Linked DNA regions of Homo sapiens: region 2 is linked to region 1. Evidence: promoter capture Hi-C in human tissues and cell types (Jung and others, 2019). All regions are on one chromosome and are shown on one strand. Each heading gives the region's core, a stretch centred on a gene start or on the middle of the fragment in contact. The rest is flanking DNA. Distances are from core to core; before and after follow the strand shown. Region 1 has its middle 4.7 kb from the start of CYYR1-AS1. Region 2 holds the start of CYYR1 (cysteine and tyrosine rich 1).

Region 1 (6,919 bases), core at 2,877-5,376:
TAATGTTCTGCCTACCCAACATGCTCATAGTCCCTGTGGCCTGTCCTGCACAATGTTAAATTTGTGTTTACTTTGAATTCCTTCAGGAGGGGCACATCATCCCTACTGTCTGTCTGCACAGCCCAGTGAGCAGAGAGCAGCAGGAACAGAGCTTGGGGCGAAAGAGTTTATGTTCTTGAACCTGCTGCAGCCCAGGAGAAACACACAGCAGAGGAAATACAGGTCCTCTCAAGGAAGTCGGGAGGCGCTTCCTACAAGGATATGCATCTGTGTAGGAGGGTTTAAGAAAGCTGGAAACAGGCCTGGATTGGAGGCCGTCAAAAGGTGGGGTTTCTTTTTGTGACTGATTAGCTTACTAATTTTTATCTAGGAGGGAGGCAGGAAGGTGAAATTGAGGTTTGAGTTGTCGCGGGCAAAGGAGCAAACGGAAGGAGGGATCTTTAGCCTTTTTTCTGTTAGCAGTGTGGCCTTATCTCTGTCTTGTCCCAAGCCTGGTCACCATGTAGCCCTGTCTCAACAGGGTGTCTACTCTGTGAGCATGTTTATGATCCATTGGGAAGATCATGGATCATTTTCGATGTCTGATGTCTCACCAGATGCATACATCTGCAAACTTCCTGGCTGCATTAGCTGTCTGAGCTTGCTAGCCTGCCTTCATCGAGGTAGGATAATTTGTGAGTTAAGAGGTATAGGTTGAGAGAGGCCTAATTCTGACAGGGAAAGATGATACAGAGGGGAGTCTTAATGGACGAGTAAGAATGTAGCAAGCATTCACTACAGCAGAGATCGTCAAAGTATGGCCCCAGACAAGCATCATCTGCATCACCTGTGGACTTCTTAGAAATGCAGATTCTTGGTCTTCGTCCCTCACCTACTAAGTCAGAAACCCTGGGGATGATGCCCAGCCATCTGTGGTTTACAAGCCTTCCCAGTGTTGCTGATCAGGCTAGAGTGAGAACTCCAGCCATGAAGTAGGTGAGAAGGCTCACAAGTGCAGCTGTGAGCAGCTCAGTGCAGCTAATAAATACTAGTGTGATTAGGAAAGGCTTTAAGGGGGAAATGGGTGTTGAATTGGGCCTTTCAAGAGGTGGAAAAGTAGGTAGGTGTGAGGAGGAGGAGGAGGAGAGGCTGCCATTGATTCAAAAATAACATGAGCAGATGCTCCTGCCTCTGGCTTAATTCTTAGCTTGGGACTTGAAGTCCAAAGATTGCAGTGCACTGAGGTCAGAATGACAAAAATATGTGAGATAAGACCAAGGGTGCATTATTCTGGATTTTCAACTAAAACGAAGACTTAATGAGGAACTTTCCCAACATTATTCTGAAGTAGGGAAAAATGCTTCAAGCAGTCCATCCGGAAGTTAGAAGTTATCAGAGAATTATAGTAATTGAAAGAGATATTTTAGAGCCAAATTAAAGAGGATGTAAGAGTTACATTAATTGTCTAGAAGACAGCCTTTGTATTGAATATGAGAACACAACCTCAGCTATAAGCTTTTAGTGAAATTAAATCTCATCACCGCTAGCCAAACTTGTGACTTTCCCATATGAAGGAGTGGAGCCCACCTTCCGGAAAAAAATTGCTGCAACACTCACTTGCCAAGGTCTTACAAGAGGGGTACGTGACATGGAGACTAAAAGGAACAAAACCATGATCCTAGTGACGAAAAGACAATCTCCTTGATTTGGGACTTAATGAAATTACATGTTAACCAATTGAGTCATTTCAAATCCAAGATGAGAACGTTTCAACTAGTCTTTTCATTTATCCTGGGTTGGTTTTGTTTTGTTTTTCAGAATTGATTGAGTTGCTTTTGCCTTTCCTTGCCACAGGAATGCACCTGACCAATTATTCATCTTTTCTACTCCTTTGATGTGGATGAGTTTGTGTTCTGTAAACATCTTCCCAGATTGTTTTTTGGACCTTGGAATTCTGTTGAGAGTGCGCGACTGATTTGCATGCTTCTGTCTCCTCCCTGGCTCCATACCTCATGCAGATGTTGCCATTTATGCTTTAGCTTTTTCAGCTCCCTTTATGGCATGAAGTAGTTTCTTCACGTTCCTCTAATTGCACCCTGAGAAATTATCTATCCACATACTCACTGGCAAAAAGCAATAGCAGATGGCTTTAAAACGGAAATAGGAATTCTTCTGGAACCTTAAAGGGAAAGATGGTGTGCAGAGAGTGGATTAATGTGCATTTCACAGTTTTAGTTCCCATTAAGAAAACTCGACTCCATCAAATCAGATATCGACTTGACAAAACTATTCATTCTGTGATGGTTGACTTGCCCTTCTTCAACTGTGACATAAATGTCTGACTTCAGGGAAATAGAGCATTTTCTTTCCTCACTGATGGGAAAACTATTCAAATGCACTGCTATAATATTTATTTAATTAGATTGCTGAAATCTTTCTATGGAGAAGTAAATGCAACCCCTCCCTCTTTCCTCTTTAGACCTATAAAAGAAAGCTGACTTGTAGTAGTAAAATATTTTAATGTGATTTGAGCCTTCCAAAAATTGAAATTTGCAAAACACAAATTTAAGAGAAGCCTCCTATAAACTATACTGTTATTTTAATCAGCTCTTCTATTCACTTTTCTTTTTTTATTTGCCAGCTTTCCTTTTGATTGTGTCATAATAACTGTCTAGACTGTTCTCAACTGTGATGGATTTTAGGAGACTTTGTACAAATGATGCTGGAAAAAAATAAATTAGCAGTACTGTCCATTAAATTACTGTGCATTAAAGTTATGATCAGAAAAAGCATTGATTACTTACATACCAGCTAAGATTGCCTACTGTCCATTTTCTTCAAGGTTACAGCTTGTTAGAAAGCTTATATCTACCTTTCTATCAAAATGCAAGTATATAAACTAAAGAGCTTCTGCACAGCCAATGGAACTATCATCAGAGTCAACAGACAACCTACAGAATGGGAGAAAACTTTTGCAATCTATCCATCTGACAAAGGCCTAATATCCAGAGTCTACAAGGAACTTAAACAAATTTACAAAAAAAAAAAAAAACAACCGCATTAAAAAGTGGGCAAAGGACATGAACACAACACTTCTCAAAAGAAGACATTCATACAGCCAACAAACATATTTTAAAAAGCTCAACATTACTGATCATTAGAGAAGTGTAAATCAAAACCACAATGAGATACCATCTCATGCCAGTCAGAATGGCAATTATTAAAATGTCAAAAAAAACAACTGATGCTGCTGTTGTTGTGGAGAAAAAGAAATGCCTTTACATTGTTGATGGCAATATAAATGAGTTCAACCATTGTGGAAGACAGTATAGCAATTCCTCAAAGGCCTAGAGGCAAAAATACCATTTGACCCAGCAATCCCTTTCCCAGGTATATACCCAAAGGAATATAAGTCATTCTATTATAAAGATACATGCACTCATATGTTCACTGCAGCACTATTCACAATAGCAAAGACATGGAATCAACCCAAATGCCCTTCAATAATAGACTGGATAAAGAAAATATGGTACCCATACACCATGGAATACTATGCAGCCATAAAAAAGAATGAGATCATGTCCTTTGCAGAGACATGGATGGAGTTGGAAGCCATTACCCTCAGCTAACTAACACAGGAAAAGAAAACCAAACACTGCATATTCTCACTTATAAGTGAGAGCTGAACAATGAGAACACATGAACACATAGAGGGAAACAAAACACACTGCAACCTGTGAGGGGGAACAGGGGAAGGGAGAGCATCAGCAAGAATAGCTAATTGATGCTGGGCTTAATACCTAGGTGATGGGTTGATCTGTACAGCAAATCACCATGGCACACATTCGTCTATGTAACAAACCTGCACATCCTGCACATGTACCCTGGAACTTAAAGGTTGAAGAAAAAACACAATTTTAAAAAATAATGACCTCCAACAATAAGTATGTTTCTATGTTCCTATTTAACTTACTGTTTTAAACTAGATGCAAAAGCTTCGTGATAATCTTGATTTAGTGTTAAGTTACAGCTATGATTATAATTGTATCTGGGACCGGTCTTATGAGTTTCTGACTTCTGTGATTCCAGGAACTGCCAAGATTCAAAGTCACAGTTATTTAGGATTTACTTAAAGCAACAACAACAATAACAATAAAAACGTATTATATCGGAAGCAACTCTTCTGGGCTGATATTTAGTCAGTAGGTACTGGTATAGCCATAATGAAATACTTTCCAGCAGGTTAATCAGCTTATGCCCTGAGCCTCCCCAAACCCAGTGCCCTTCCACTCTACCTGGGCTGTCTCAGTACCTCCTCCAGTGACTCTATCTCTTAATGACTTGGCAATGAACGAATGGTTAATACGTGGCTCAGTAAGGAAGCTCTAACCATAGAATGGTCTGATTGGCTACTACTGATTGGTTAGTATATATGTCGTAAACATTTTAACATCCTCCTGATTAAATCTTATCAGTTACCATCTCAGCTAACATCTTAGTATCAGTGTATTGGTTCCTTCTTGCATTGCTGTAAAGAACTACCCCAGACCGGGTAATTTATGAACAAAAGAGGTTTAACTGGCTCACAGTTCTGCAGGTTATATAGAAAATATAGCTGGGAAGTCCTTAAGAAACTTTCAATCATGGTGGAAGGTGAAGAGGAAGGAGTCACATCTTACACGGCTGGAGCAGGAGGAAGCAGGGGCGGGGGGAGGTGCTACACACTTTTAAACAACCAGATCTCATGATAACTCACTCACTATCATGAGAGCAGCAAGGGAGAAGCCCACCCCCATGATCCAATCACCTCTCACCAGGCCCCTCCTCCAACACTGGGGATTACAATTCAGCATGAGATTTGGGCAGGGACACAAATCCAAACCATATCAATCAGTACTCTTGTGATAGTAAAGCCAGGTAGGACTGGGTCTCAAAACAACCTCTGGATGAGTGGAAAGGCATAAAAAGGAGGTAGAGTAAGCCATGAGGAGGGGGAAAAATATGATAGGTGGTAGGGGGCTTTTAATGGGAGGCTTCAAAAGACTGTCGTATTACAAGACTTCTACTTCACAATTTCCTTTCAGGTCAACCTTATCAATGCCAATTACCTAATTGCTGTATAGGATTTTCTCTGAGACAAGGTGATTTACTGTGTTCTGCAATATGATCAGACATATTCAGCCTCTGAAGTTAAAACCTGGTGATATTCATGGGTGAGGAGGATTCTGCCTACAAACTTATATATATCTAGTAGATGTTGTGCCCTGCCCAGATCTCCTTTAGTGCATCTGTGCACCCATCTCCAAGCTGTCGTAAGTGTGGGTTTTCAGTGGCTCATGGATACACTGTCTTCTGCATAATTGGCCTTGGCCAAGGAAAGCCCCTTTTCCTGGACATAGCTGAGGCCCAAGCTTCCACCATCATTGGAATAGCTGCAGCTAAGGACTGATTATGTGGCCAGCCTCCTTGCAGGATAATTTTTTGCACCGCTCACACTCCAGAGTTCCCTATGGCATCAGGCTGAGGCCACAGGTCAGCTGTAACCACACCTTTCCTTAGTTTCTTCCCCTGTGTCATCCTGCTTGCCTCATGTCCTTAGAGATGTACTTAAAAATCTATGTATCAGGCTGCACTTTTAGGGAAACTAATGCATTTTTTCAAAACAGAAATTGAAGACATTTTTCTTTCTAAATATACATGGCAAAAGATTGTATTAATATAGTTTGGATATATGTCCCCTCTAAATCTCATGCCGATTTGTAATCCCCATTGTTGGAGGTGGGGCCTAGTGGGAGGTGATGGGATCATGGAGGCAGATTTCTCATGAATGGCTTAGTACCATCCCCTTGTTGCTGTCCTTGCCATAGTGAATAAGTTCTCATGAGATCTGGTCATTTAAAAGTCTGTGGCACCTCCCTCCACCACACTCTTTCTTGCTCCTGCTTTTGCTATGTGCTGTGCAAGCTCCCATTTTGCCTTCCACCATGACTAAAAGCTCCCTGAGGCCTCCCCAGAAGCCAAGCAGATGCCGGCATCATGCCTCCTGTACAACCTGCAGAACACTACGACAATTAAATCTCCTTTCTTTATAAATTACCCAGACTCAGGTATTTTAAAGAAATTGCAAGCAAACCTCTACTCCACAATTCCCTTTTAGGTCAACCGTATCAATGCCAATTACCTAATTATAGGATTTTCTCTGAGACAAGATGATTTATTGTGTTCTGCAATGCGATCAGACATATTCAGCCTCTGAAGTTAAAACTTGGGATATCCATGTGTGGGATATTCATACGTGCTGTTCTAGCAATGCAAGAGCAGCCTAATACACATATGGACAATTTTTAGACCTCTTGTCAAACAAATTTGAGAGACATCACTACTGTCTAGCTTTGATTTTCTACAAATTATGCTAACTAGGAATCTAAAATAAATTGAGTGCTGTGGCTCCAGTGGCACAATTGGTTAGCACGCGGTACTTATAAAGTGAATTGAAGTTCTACATTTCTTTTCTGTCACAATACCTTCTGTGAGGGAGGGGGCATGGAATTTCATGGTTGAAATTTATGCTTTCCATCATGTTTTCCCTACCTCTGAAAGAGATATTATCCTGCACAAATAAAGATTGGAAGGAAACTGTCAATACTTGGAAGACCACCAATTAACCACCTCAGCTAATAAATAGAGAAGGCACCTGGATATTTGGGGTTTGCCCCACCCCCCACGCCAGATTCGCTTTCCAACCTTCGCTATCCTCCTTTGAAATCCAAGACTTCAACTTCTAGGGACTGCACCAACAAGCTTCCTTGCCCTCCAGCTTTCAGTTTGGCCAATGGAAGATACTTGCCAGGAAATTGAAAGTTTAGTGCAGAATGATGTAAGCACTTTTATTCCAACAGCAACCTTCCTGGCAAGTCATCACAAGCTGGCTCTGGCCTTC
Region 2 (6,919 bases), core at 2,389-4,888, 170 kb before region 1:
TTTCTTATTTAACTATATATCTTAAAGATCTTTTCAACAATTTTAAACATTAGATATGAGTTCATAATGTGGATATACCCTAATTTACTTAACTGTTTTACCTCTGTTGTACATGTAAACTATTTTTTAAAATTGTAATAAACATTGTTCTAGATGTCATAGTGGATCAGAAATATTAATAAAATCTGATTTAGAAGAGGATTCTTGGATTGCATTCTTTATCTTTCAGTGGGTTAAAAATAGTTTCACCCTCTTCAATTCCAGGGTTGCAAATGAGAAATCTGATGCCTGTCAGATTCTCTTTTTCAAGGAAACATAAAAATTATATATGAAAATGTATATGATTTTAAATTTATACTTGTTGAAACTGGTCTCTAAGATATGTACATATTTGTGCTTCTTTTCAAAAAAAATTTCTCGGAACTAACTCACCATTTTAAATATGAAAATTCAAATTTTATTACAGCTCAGAATTTTAAAACATTATTTCTTTGACGTTTGCTTTTTCACTTTGTGTTTCTCTGGAAACTATTAGCCTGCACATTATTCCCATTCTTTGGGTTTTTATATTTTTATTCGTGGTTTCTATTTCTTTGTGTTTTTTTTCCTCTGTTATATGAAAAATACTCCTTATTTGATCTAACAATTTTTTTTTTCTTTTTTTGAGACAGAGTCTCACTCTGGAGTGCAGTGGCATGATCTTACCTCACTGTAACCTCTACCTCCTGATTCTCCTGCCTCAGCTACCCGAATAGCTGAGAGCTGAGACTACTGGTGCACACCACCACGCCCAGTTAATTTTTTGTATTTTTAGTACAGATGAAGTTTCACCATGTTGGCTAGGCTGCTCTTGAACTCTTAGCCTCAAGTGATACCCACCTCGGCCTCCCAAAGTGCTGGGATTACAGGCGTGATCCACCGCGCCTGGCCTGATCTAACAATCTAAGTTTTTTTTTTTTAATGTGACTATTTTATAATTTTTTTCTGTAAATTTTAAAACCTCAAACCACATTTATTTTAATTTCCAGGAACTCTTTTAGTTCCTCTGATGTTGTATTCTTAAGGTTTCTCATTCCATACATATTTGTATATACATCTTTTTTTCCTTCAAATCCTTTCTTTTAACTACCACAATTTCTTAAATGGCTTGCCATCTTTCTTTGCCTTTCCATGTCAATTGAGTTTGGTTTCCTGAGCATCAGCATACTTCAAGGTAGCAGCTCTGGAAGGTACACTTGCAGGCAAGCTTGCTCGACCAATCTGTTGAACTGTATGAGAAGTCTTTCTGTTCTCAAAAGTAAGCTGAAAGAGACTATCCTGACCAACACTGCAACTTCCTATGGGCCTCAGTGGCAACAGCCAGCCTCTTCCTGATCTGTGTCAAAAAGTGGGCGGGAGAAGCCCCTTCTTCTATCACAGCTACCAGCCCATCAAGGATCTGTATTCAGTCTCATCTGCAAAGACAATCATTTTTCTATTCCAAGCAGGCTGGATACCATTCTTCAGCTCTGCAAACACTGACTTCCATCTGTATCTTCTTCCTTCAAGACTCAAAGGGCTTGTATGCCTGGGATTTTCTCTAGGTTCCAACCATTGTCCCAGTTATTTAGAAATTGTGCTTCCCAGTGGAATGTTTTGATCAGGCTACAAGAATGACAGGACCTAGTGAACAAGTTCTTGAACACCCTGGATTAAATGTTTGAATTTTAACCTAAGGGCAACAGGATGCTACTGAGTGAGTGAACATGATGAAATCTGTAGTTTAAGAAGAAATATTCCAGCTTCAGTCTGGCAAACATCTCTGAAGGCAGGGAGGCTGAATATAATCAAGACTATAAAAGTCTAGATTAGGACAGAAATAGATGATAATTTAAAATGCGTTTGGGTGGTGTTCAGGTGGACAGATTAGGTGAACTTGGTGATAGATTGGCCAGCGAGGATGAGAAAAAAGGTGGAACTGATCAGCCTTCTTTAGAACATGGTGGATGGTTGGGCCTTCACCAACGTGTAAAACACAGTAAAGAGCTTAGCTTATGTTTATTTTGGGGGTGATGTTTCCTCCCACTCTCGTATTCCCTTGCAGCACTGCATTTACAGGAAAAAATTCCTGGAAGAGAACTGACTAAATTAAGTACATGTGTATTTGAATTTTCGTACATATAACCACACCGTTTCCCTTAAGAGTTCATTTGGTTTTGTATTTGGTTGGTTTGATACATGAAAAGTGATGTCTCACTGTCAATTTTATTTCTATATTTATATTTATTTGTTTTGTATGAAGTGTCTATTAATATCCTTCCTCAGTTATCTCTTGGTTGTTTTTCCTATTGATTTTTTTAAGCTCAGTATAATAATGAGATTAGGACTTTGCATTGCAAATATTTTTGCCAGTTAAATGTCTGCCAACTGGAAGTATTAATTCTTATTTAGTCAAGTTGGTCAATATTTTGTTTTATGGTTTCTGAGTTTTTTATAATGCTTAGAAAAGGCTTCCCTATTCCACAATTATTTGAATGTTATCCTCTTATTTTTTAATCTAATATTTTCATAGTTGTATCTTAAATATGTAATTCATATAGAACTGATTTTGATGTAAAAAGATAAGGCTCCACAGATGGCTATTTACGGCCTCAACACTTTTCACTGAGTAACTCATCATTTCCCCTACTACTTTACATTGATATTTCTTTAAACCATAAATTAAATTGCTGTACATACTCATGTCTACTTTTGGGTTACCTTTTCTCTTTCACTAAGCCTATCTATTCCAATGTTAATCTAAACTGTTTTAATTATTGTGATATTATATGTAATATCCCATTCATTATTCCCATTCATTACTCTTGTTTTAAATAGATATTCTTACATATTTATTTTCCATATAAACTTTAGAATCAGATTGGTTTGAAAAAAATCATGTTATTTTAAAAATTGGGATCAATTTTATTTCCAAATGTATATAATAATTTGGGGAATCTTGTTGTCTTTATCCTACTAAATTTTCTTAGTGAAAAAAGTATCTCTTTACTTATTCGTATCATTTTTTTTCCTTCATGCATAACATTGAGAACTTTCTGATTTTTGTTTGCAGGAAAGAAAACTATTGGTTTGCTAAACAAGAGCTTTATAGTTGATTAACTTTGATTTTCCATGTATACACGTATTTCATTTGCTAATGACAATTTAGCTTTCATTTTTCATAAATCTTTTTCTTTCTCTTGTTTAATTGCATAGGCCAGTAACTCCAAAACGTCAAAATCATAACGACAGTGTGCACTGTTGTGTTTTTTTTTTCTGAATTTACAGGAAAAAATAATAAACATTTTATCAGCTTTCAGCAGAGATGCCATACACTTTCTGTACTTCCCAATCCTGAGTTTTCTTCACTGTCACTCTTTGTCGAATACCTTCAACCCTGAAAATTCCTTCCCTTTGTTTAAAGATAAAAAGCAAAGTTGTTCATCCATTGCTTAGAAAGGAAAAATTGTAGTGGAGGCAAGGTTAAAAAGGAGCAGGCTGAACTCCATAGCAATCGCCAAAGCAAGGGGTTAGGAAAAGTTTCTTGGTCCCCTAGTCACTCTTTAGAAGGAAGAACCCGGGCTTGGGGAGGAGTCGGGGCCACCCCCGCCCCCTGCCCGCAGTCGTTGCCACCCGCGGAGATGAAATGTGAGCCTGGGTGGCCAAGGACGCCGGAGTGGCCGCCTTCCCCGCGCCTGAGCGCAGTGGGGCGAGACAAAGAGACCTGGGCCCCCAGCGCAGCCCGTCTCGGGCCACGGGCGCCCCAGCTCCGCGGAGTCCCGCAGTCGCTGGCCCGGGACGCGCCCGGCCCGGGCTCCCTTGGAAGGCTCCCTAGGCAATGGCCGGGTCTCTGCTCCACCCGGCTCTCAGGAGCGCTGCTCTCTCCATCTGATCGCCCTCCATCCTCCCCATTCCCTCCGGTTCCGGGCTCTCCCTTCGCTCCAAGCCTCAGGCCACCGGCTTGGATGGACGCTCCGAGGCTACCCGTGCGTCCAGGGGTCTTGCTTCCGAAGTTGGTCCTGCTCTTTGTCTACGCAGGTCAGTGACGGAGGGCGGCGGAGAGGGTCAGAGGCTCGGGGCTGCCCTTGGGTCACGGTCCGGGCTAACGTGGGTTGAGCTGGACGGACCGGGACCTTTGCAGAAGGACCTTTGCAGACGCTTCTGCCTTTTCCGCGAGGCGACGGCAGAAACCCGCGCACTTCCAGCCGCACGCGGTTTTGTTTTGTTCCTTTTCCTTTAACTTTTACCTTTTGCATTTCTTTTCTTTCCCTTTCCACCTTGGAAATAGCAGTCTCGTGTTTAGGGGATTTGACTCTCTGGATAGAGTAAACTATATCCAAATAAACTTATCTGGATAGGCTAGGCAGTGGCCTCTCCATCTTCTGCTTTCTAAATAGTCCTGGTTTTCCCTCTTGTGAATAAAAAAAACTTAGAGCTTTGTTTTCGTTCTTTGGGAGATTCACAAGTGTGGTAGACTGAGCTATTGGACTGAAGTCAAACACAAGGTTTTTGAGAAGCATGAATTCACCCAGGGTCTAATCTGTACAGGTTCGTTGATTTAGATAGACACTTGTTTATAAGAGAAGGGCATCTGGTTTCCCTTCTAATTATTCGTAGTAAGAACTGCTAATAATTAACGAAGCAAAGTGGGTTTTCTTGTTTGTGATTAATATGGAGCCCCAAATGGCCTTTCATTGGTTATTCAGGTATAAAGTGTCTTACACACGTGGTCTTTGCATCAGTTCATATTCACAAAACAATGCAAGCTAAAAGCAAAGTTCTTTGTAAAATGTTTTTGTGTCTCTAACGTCCTATGACAAAAATCGCAGGCTCACCCCTGAGCCTCCAATACGAAATGTATATATAGCACTGAAATTTACCTTTGATACTCAAAAAGATATTGCAACTGAAATGATGTTCTTCAGTGTTGCACCTGAGTATTAAAAGAATTGAATTTCTCATTCAACCTTGCTAGAAAAGAGTCACCATAACTTCTGTAGACATTTTTAGCCTGTTTATTGAAATGCAAATTAGTGGCTGTCTAGGAGTTACCATTTTAAAGATGTTTTATGGCAGGAAAAATGCTGACCTTCTAATATGAAAATTCATAAAAGTAGGATAAGTTCTTCGTATTTAATGAAGAGAATTACATTTAATCTGTTTACAACATTTATTTCTTTTATTAAATTTGTATAAGGTTTTCAGAATTTGAGGGATTAACAGAGTCAACTGCATTAATATTCATTTTCTATTGAAAAAATCTCTTTATTAGTTCTTTCGAAGTAATTATGCTTTTCACTTCCTCTGCTCGACAATATTTAATACTTTCACTCACACTTATTCAACCACTCCATTGAACCACAATTTTGTTTGTTTGTTTGTTTGTTTATTATATTCCCTGTGGTAAACTGAAAGCTTCTGCTTTACACATCTGCCCCCTCCTCCTGTTTCCCCAGTGCTAGGTGCCCAGCTCCTCAGGGCTCAGGAAATCAGCGAAGCTGGCCAGCAACAAGGGTGGTTAGTTTAGAAAGTTTTCAGTCCATTCATTTCTCTTCTTTGGAATCCCTCTATCATAAGCTACAAAGTAGTTGTAAGCCAGTGCTAAGTTGACTTACTATCTTTGCTAAGAAGTGTTTAGCTAATAAGCTCTTTGGTGTCAATTCCTGGACTTGTTATTCAGAGGCCTTTTTATGCTTTTCATATTCATTCAACTATTACTTACTGAGTGAGGTATGTTGAGCCGTAAGAGGTCATGTTCTTATCAGTCTTCTCTGGGAACTACGGTATGATCATAAGTTACTTTAAGGTATAAAAGGTTGTGTCATAGGAGAGGTAAAATCACGTGCTATAGATGTTCAAAGAAGAAAGTCTTACTGCTGGCTTAAAAGAGTAAGCTTCATGAGGACAATGTCTATTTTGTTCAGCAAAAAGATCAATCAGTATTTGCTCAGGAAAACTGAATTGAAGAAGACTTGAAGGAACTAGACCTTTGAAAAATATAGACGCCCTGAACCCAACGAGACGGAGTGGGATATAGTAGGATATCGTGTGATCAAAGTCAAAAATCAAGATCTGTACATGCAACAAAGGATATTTCAGTTTGGTTGGAACTAAGAGGTATGGCTAGAAGTAAGGGTTGAGGTTAGATGCTGGAACACCACAGAAGTCAAAATAGTTCATACTATTAAATGAATTGCCAGCTTTGTGGGACAAAAATCTAAGTAGATGCACTGCTCATAATCTAAATTATTTTCCCCAAAGCAAATGCATTAGATTCACATTTCATTTGGCTAAACAAATAAGAGCAAGGTTTCTATACCTGAAGCATCATGTTGTACTATAGAGTTACTTTTGGAAGGAGACCCAGTGAAGTGTTGATATTATTGTCTGACTCCCACTGCAGGCTACAAAGACAGGATTCGGTCAAGGTTTTACCTTCCGGGCCTCAGCCAGTAACTTCTGTCTCCTCCCTTTCCTTCCTCTCTTATCTTAGCTATAGCTTGCAAGGGCCATTTCTAAGCAAGTGCTTCAAGCCAGATACTGCTTTTCCTGTTCTGCGCATTCCTTAAGGTGGGAGGCAGGGTGAGTTGGGAGTCAGGGGTGAGTTGGGGAACCTTCTTCCAGACCACACCTTTCAGCAAAAAGTCATTGAAGAAAGTTTAAGTTGGCTGATTTTCAGGGATACTAACTTGGACATTAGAAGTAATATTATTTATCTTCTGAAGACAAATTGGAATGATCTGTTCTTTCTCCAGTGAGAAAAAGCTCCTGTATGGCGCAAACACTGATCTTTGTCAAATTATTCTCAAATATCCCAGAGAAAGCAACCAACATAAAAAAGGCTTTGAAGTGTGGTTGAAATTTCATTTTGGAGAGGTTGTGATTGTAAATGTATTTGCCA

Evidence for each region. The method cuts DNA at HindIII sites, captures the fragments that hold promoters and counts their contacts. A contact is called where the count stands out against the background at its distance.
Region 2: a contact is called between the fragment with the promoter of CYYR1 here and a fragment that was not itself captured in region 1, in 5 of the 25 tissues and cell types used here (aorta, dorsolateral prefrontal cortex, hippocampus and 2 more).

What each region holds. Positions count from the first base shown.
Region 1 is chr21:26,397,827-26,404,745 of GRCh38, reverse strand. It overlaps a transcript of CYYR1-AS1 not described here. Among named protein-coding and RNA genes, the nearest start is that of CYYR1-AS1, 4.7 kb to the left of the region's middle. The HindIII fragment of the contact is 3,918 bases long and covers 2,168-6,085 here.
Region 2 is chr21:26,570,005-26,576,923 of GRCh38, reverse strand. It overlaps CYYR1 (cysteine and tyrosine rich 1), which reads left to right and starts at 3,638. Exons shown (of 4, transcript NM_001320768.2): 1 at 3,638-4,056. The coding sequence starts at 3,984. The HindIII fragment of the contact is 7,865 bases long and covers 1-5,673 here.